Linked DNA regions of Homo sapiens: region 1 is linked to region 2. The links are contacts of gene promoters, found by promoter capture Hi-C in blood cells and fetal thymus (Javierre and others, 2016). All regions are on one chromosome and are shown on one strand. The core of a region is centred on a gene start or on the middle of the fragment in contact, and the rest is flanking DNA. Distances in the headings are between cores, read along the strand shown. Region 1 overlaps TG (thyroglobulin). Region 2 holds the start of TG (thyroglobulin).

Region 1 (3,052 bases), core at 88-2,587, 230 kb before region 2:
ATGCAGCGTTGGCATGAGTAGAGAGCATGCATTTGTGTTTACTACAATTTGGAAAATTGGTCTCAGGTCAGCTGAGGTGGTTCAGAGATTGGACGTTCTTTGTATTCCTGCTTTCTGTGTATAATTATCTGAAGAAGGGATAACAGCTTTGGACACTAATCTTAATATTAAAATTAAAAAATTAAGGGAAAAGAACGAACATTTATTGAAGCCAAACTATTTTCCAGATATTGTTGTGTATTTGAATTTTTGAACATCTTTATGAGGATATTTACTAATCATCTCCCAACTTCACAGATAGGGAAACTGAGGCTCAGACTCTGGGTAACTTGGATGCTCGTGATTGCAATCCAAGGACACCCAGGACACTCTCCCTGCTGTGTTGACACATGACCAAGGGAGCGGGGTCCTGGTCAGTTCCTGGCCATTGTGTCACTCCAGCTGACAGTGCTGCTATGGGGCCCAATGGCACCTGATCTCCACCTCCTGAGGTCTTGGAATAGATGTCCATCTCTCCATATAGTATGTATCAATGGTGTTTCAGTTGTTTGCCTTGTCTGTTATCATCTGACTGCAAGCCCTTCTGAGGGGAGGAATTCAATTTGTATTTTATGCTGAAACACCTGGCCCAGCATGACTAAACAAACAGGTGTTGGTGTTACAAAAACATGCTGGACACCCTGTTTAGGTGGATGTGGCAATTTACTGCAATTGATATGTCCTGTTTCTCAGCCCCAGATGGGGCAGGAGGGGCTGGGTGGGTATCAAAGGACAGAGGATGGAGTAAAAGGCATGGCTGAGATTGAGGCCCTCCAGAACCTGCCATCTTCAGGTCCTCCTTGGCTGATGGTGGTTGGACCCAGGTGCCATGGAGCCTTCTTGGGGCAAACAGAGAAATGCACAAGCCCAACTCTAAATTCAGGTTGGGAGTGGGCTGAGGCAAGGGAGGGCAATACAAGGGCACATTGGGTTGAAGTCCAGAGGAGTTTCCTCACTGTTGGGAGGGTGGGAGCATAGCTCATAACTCAGTTTCCACTTGGTTGTCCACTGTGCCCTCTTGCAGTTCTGTGTGGGGTAGAATCCTGAGGATCTCTCTAGGTGATGCTTGCGTATGGTGGGGGTAAGGTGGTGATAGCGCATCCCTGACCTAGTGTTTATCACAGATAGGGTAATGGGTAGAGCCTGCCACCCGCCACCCTCCCCACTCCTGCCCTGCAATTGGGGTCAGAGACCTGCAGTGGAGACTTGGCTTTCCAAAGGACTAGTTAGCTGACCTAGAGACACCCGGTAAACCTCACTAAGCCTTTCTTTCCCAGAAAAAAAATCGTGTTAAATACTGGTTCATGGTTCCCTACCTCACAGCCATACAGTTGAGATAACGTAAAGTAAGAGCATGAGTTACTTCACTTAGGCTAACCCCTAAGGCTATTGAAATTTTAAAATTATAAATAAATCAATAAATGACTACAGAAAAAAAAGAATGTGGGTAGAATTGGAAAGCCCTTTGCACATAGTAGCCTTTATTCTAGCTGGGTTTGTGTACATTTCAGTACCCAGCATACCGTTGATGGTAGATGGAAGGCTCTCAGAGGAAAGCCTGGCTTTTCCCAGAGTGACGTCATGGGAAGAGGATATTTGGAGGCAGATAGAACTGGGTTTTAATTCTGGTTTCTCTCTGAAAAATAGTAATAATAATCCCCACCTCATAGGGTAATAGTTGTGAGGGTGAATTATTTCATTGAAGACTTCCAGGTTAGGGCCCAGCACATAGTCAGTTCTTCATAATTTCATTCATTCATCCTAGTGAATGTCTATTGTGTGCCTGCTGTGTGCAATTTGTCTAGCAGAACTAGAAACATTTCTAGGCACCAGAGATATAGCAGTTTCAAACATTCTAGTTGGGGAAGAAAGACAACAGACAAATACATAATATGGCAGGAGGTTTGAGTGCTGGGGTAGGGTGTAGGATGTAGGGATAGAGAAGGCTGGGGATATGGCTTCCCTCTGAATCCAAGTGGTCAAGCAAGGTCTTTCTGATAAGCAGACCCTGAAGGGAGTAAGGCAGTGAGTTGTCTGGGAAGAACATTCCAGAAGAAAAAACAGCAAGTACCAGGACCCTGATATGGGATGTGCTCAGCCTATTTGAGAAACTCTAAAGGGATAAACCAGTGAGCCAAGAGGGAACAGCAGGAGTTAAGGTCAGAGAGCTAACAGAGGTCACATCAAATAGGCTCTGGCAGTTCATAGAAGACTGGAATTTTCCTCTGCATGAGAGGAGGCCACTGGAGAGAAGGCTTGGAGCAGAGGAGTAAAATGGTCTGACTTATAAAGGGATTGCTCTGGCTACTGTGCTTCTCATAGATTATAAGAGGCAAGGCAGGTGCAGAGAGAGAGTTGGGGGCTAGCACAAAAATCTCAAATAAAGTGGCTGGATCAGGGTGATAGCAGAAGAGGTAGGGGAGCAGGGTTTGGATTTGGGATACATTTGGAAAATACAGCCAGCTGGATTTTCTGATAGAATGCTGGTAGGGTATGAGAGAGCAGTGTCAGGAATGACTTTTGGTTTTGAGCCTGAGTACAGAAGGATGAGTTGTTTAGTTGCTGAGTTGTTTACTGAGATGGTGAAGACTACAGAAGAACATGCTGGTTGGGGATGGGAGCAGAGGTGGAATCGGCAGTCCACTTTGGGTGTGTTATGGATGAGACACTATGAGACATGTAAGTGAAGATGTCAAGTGGGCCATTGGCTAAACCAGTTCAGAGTTCAAGGGAAAAGTCCAGGAGGAATAAATCTGTGTGCAGACACATGTTTAGGAGATGATTGCATGCAGTGGCACTGAGCTGTGAGCTGGCTTCCAGTCCCACCGTCACTACTCTCCTGCTGCAGGTAGTCCTCCTCATCAATTAGCACCTAGATGAGTTCTTGGCAGGATGCAGGCTCACAAAAGCTGCTCAGTGGCTTCACTAATGCGTGTCCCAAGGGAATGAATGAAGAAGCGAAGCCAGAAACGAACGGTCTAACCAATGAACAAATGTGCTGGGGGAACACTGC
Region 2 (3,326 bases), core at 1-2,500:
CTGCACACTGGGGCACGTAGTCTGCTTGCTTCAGAAAGGCCGTTTCCCTCTGCAGCTCACAGGGACGAAGGGGCTGGGCATCCACCTGGTACTCTAGGAAAAGAAAAGTGGTTCATCAAAGAAGAGTGTGGACTGGGCTGCCAGGACAGAGACGGGCTCTCATAAGCACAGATGCTTTTCCAGGGTCATCATCATTACCTATGACAGCCTATTTTAAAATTTGGCAGCTAAGCACACTTTCTTACAAGTATGACATTAGCTCATTTAATGTGCAACATTCTCCTAAGAGGTGACAGGCAATATATCCTTGTCACTCATGAGGCACCAAGTCTCAGGCAGCGAAAGTCGTCTGCCCAAAGTCACGTAACTGGCAAGTGAAGGATCCCAAAATCAACGCTGGGACTACACGTTCCCCGCCCGCCCCCACCCTGCCGCAATTCCCATGAGGCTATTTGGAGTAAGTTAGAGAACCGTAAGGAAGTTCTTCTTGAATCTATCAAGCCATGCCCTGCAGATGTAACATGTTCCAGATAAACATTGAAATACCAATTAATTAATAATGTACATGACTTATTTTTCCATTGAGAACTCTTGTAACACATAGGGTCCTACCCAGAAATCACAACCGCATCATGAGGTGTGTGTTATTTGTTTACTTTTTAAATGAAAAAAAAAAAAAAAAAACAGAAGCTTGGCACTTTGCCCGAAGTCATATGGGTAAGTGGCTGAGCCAAAGACAGAACTTAGGGCTATTTCACTTCATAGGTAGATTTCTTTTTCTACTGCTTCTAAAATACCTGTTATGGATGACACAGACTTTGGAATAGCTAAGGGGATAAAAACCCAAGGTCAATGCCAAAAGTTTGCCAAAATGGTGGGGTGAGGAGGACCTAGAATTGAATTAGGAAGATCAACCACATTTCCCATTTCTGCTCCATCAATCACTAGCTCTGTGACCTCAAGTAATTCAGTTCGGCTCTCTAAATCTGCCTCTTCATCTGAAAAAAAAAAAGCAAATCACTGACATGTGGGAATTTGTGAAGATTAAATTAGATCGCACCTGTTCGAAGGCCCAGGGCAGAGCCTGGCTGACACTGGAGCTCCCTCCCCACCGCCTGGCTCCATGGCCTCAGAACTTACCGAAGATATTGGCCGACACCCAGCAGATGGAGGCCAGCAGGGTGAAGATCTCCAGGACCAGGGCCATTTTCCTGGCCCTTCCTGGGAGGAAGGAGGAGAAACCACTGCTTGCCCTAGGTCCCCTGGCCAGGGAGCTTTTATAGAGCTGCCGTTGGCACTTTCCTTCCCACCCCCAGGTCCTCAGTGAGGCAGTGCCCCATCCTGTTTTCTCTGCTGGTCAAAAGGAGCTCCCTCCACCTGTGTCTACTCCTCCTGAGGGCACTCGTGTGGCCAGTGGAGCATGAGGATCTTGTCTAAACTGTGGGGGAACAGAACGGGGTGGGGTGACTTCAAAATCCTTTTTTATGGGTAAAGACCAAAGCTCTGTATCTTTGGAGGGAACAGGCTCAAGCCCACAGTGAGGGAAAAGCAATCCTTTGTTCTTTCCTTCCCCACCCTACCCTTTCTCCTTCTCCTTCCTCCTTCCTTCTTTCCTTTCTTCCTTTCTTTCTTCTTTCCTTCCTTTCTCCCTTCTATCCTTCTTTCCTTTCATTCTTCCTTCTTTCTTTCCTTCCTTCCCTCTTTCTTTTCTTTCTTCCTTCTTTCCTTCCTTCCTTCTTTTCTTTCTTCTATTCTTTCTCTAACAACCTCTTAGAGCTCCACAGTAGCAGGCACCTAATCTAGACAATGAGGATATGGCAGAGAACAAAACAGGCAAAATCGTGCCCTCATTAATATAGACTGTGAAAACTTTGGTGAGGGAAGCAAAATACACACACACTCATATTCATATTTCTATTACTTTCCTCTCTTTCCTAGGACCTCAGACTTTGTCAACCAAAAGATAGCAGGAACTGTGTATTCCACAGAAAGCCTGTATGTCCATTTGGTTTCTCCTGGCAAACATGGCTTCCTTCCTTCAGTCCTGTTCCTGTGAGACCTGGAAAAACTCACCTCATCTCCCTGAGCCCCAGCCTCCTTCTCTGGAAAGCAAAGTTAAAAGGAGAATAATAATATGTCCCTATTTGTTAAGGTAGTTGTAAGAGAATAGACATTGAAGAGCACATGCTTATTAGACACTAGCAGTTATTATTATTATTATTGATTTTCTTATTTTGCAAAAGCATCATGCCAGGGAATGGCAAGTATTCAGAAGACCAATCCAGCCAGGTAAGGAGCTAGTGACAGATAGGGTCAGGAACTGGCAGGTAATGAGGGCAGGTTGCTGAGCCTGGCACCTGAGGAGAGATGGAGGGACCTGTGAGAATCTGGAGGATATGGTCCCGGGTAGAGTGAAGGGCAGGAGGACAAGCTGGAAAGTGGAAGAGACTCCAAACCCTGGGGAAAATAAAGGGGCCGATATAGCTGCCGTGCCGTAGACTGTACTACCTTCCACAAATAGGGTTGCTATGAATATTAAATGTGTTAAAATATGCAAAGTGCTTAAAACAGTATTTGACACATAATAAGTATCCAGTGTTAGCTACTGTACTAGTCTGCTATGGGTGTCATCACAAACTATCACAGACTGGGTGGCTTAAGTAACAGAAATTTATTTTCTCATAGTTCTGAAGGCTGGAAATCCAAGATCAAAGTGTCAGCACTGTTGGTTTCTTTGGAGACTCCTCTCCTGGGCTTGCAGATGGCCATCTCCTCCCTGTATCCTCACTTGGTCTTCCCTGTGTGTGTTTGTGTCTTAATATTTATTTCTTTTAAGTACACCAGTCATATTGGATTAGAGCCCATCCTTGTGACCTCATTGTGCACTTAATTACCTCTTTAAAGACCCTACCTTCAAATGCGGTCACATTCTGAGGTCCTGGTTTTAGGACTTCAGCATATGGATTTGGGGGGAGAACACAATTCAGTCCATAACAGCTACTGTCATCATTGTTGGGTTCCTGATATAAACTAGAGAAAGTAAAACACAACAGTCATTTGAAGTGTCAGGGTATGGGATTAAAAACAGGGGAGAACCCGTGCTCTGCCCGTCCTTCTTGGGGACCACACATGCCTGGAACTCCCACATCTCTCTCTAGCTCAGTCTCCAGCCAGACTTTTTTGAGCTCAGATCCACTCTGCCTGGACACCCTACAGGTATTTCAAATTCAACATATCCCAACCTGAACTCCTCAACCTTTCTCCTGACATCACCCCATTGGCTGTCTCTGTGATAGTAAATCCGAGCCCCATCCTAGGCTTCTCCC

The links. The method cuts DNA at HindIII sites, captures the fragments that hold promoters and counts their contacts. A CHiCAGO score of 5 or more calls a contact.
Region 1: a contact is called between a fragment that was not itself captured here and the fragment with the promoter of TG in region 2, in 2 of 17 cell types (M1 macrophages and M2 macrophages). The highest score is 5.6, in M1 macrophages.

What each region holds. Positions count from the first base shown.
Region 1 is chr8:133,099,234-133,102,285 of GRCh38, reverse strand. All of the region lies in intron 43 of TG (thyroglobulin), which reads right to left. All of the region lies in intron 1 of SLA (Src like adaptor), which reads left to right. Among named protein-coding and RNA genes, the nearest start is that of SLA, 1.8 kb to the left of the region's middle. The HindIII fragment of the contact is 3,803 bases long and covers 1-3,052 here.
Region 2 is chr8:132,864,882-132,868,207 of GRCh38, reverse strand. It overlaps TG (thyroglobulin), which reads right to left and starts at 1,250. Exons shown (of 48, transcript NM_003235.5): 1 at 1,141-1,250; 2 at 1-93. The coding sequence starts at 1,207. The HindIII fragment of the contact is 3,355 bases long and covers 693-3,326 here.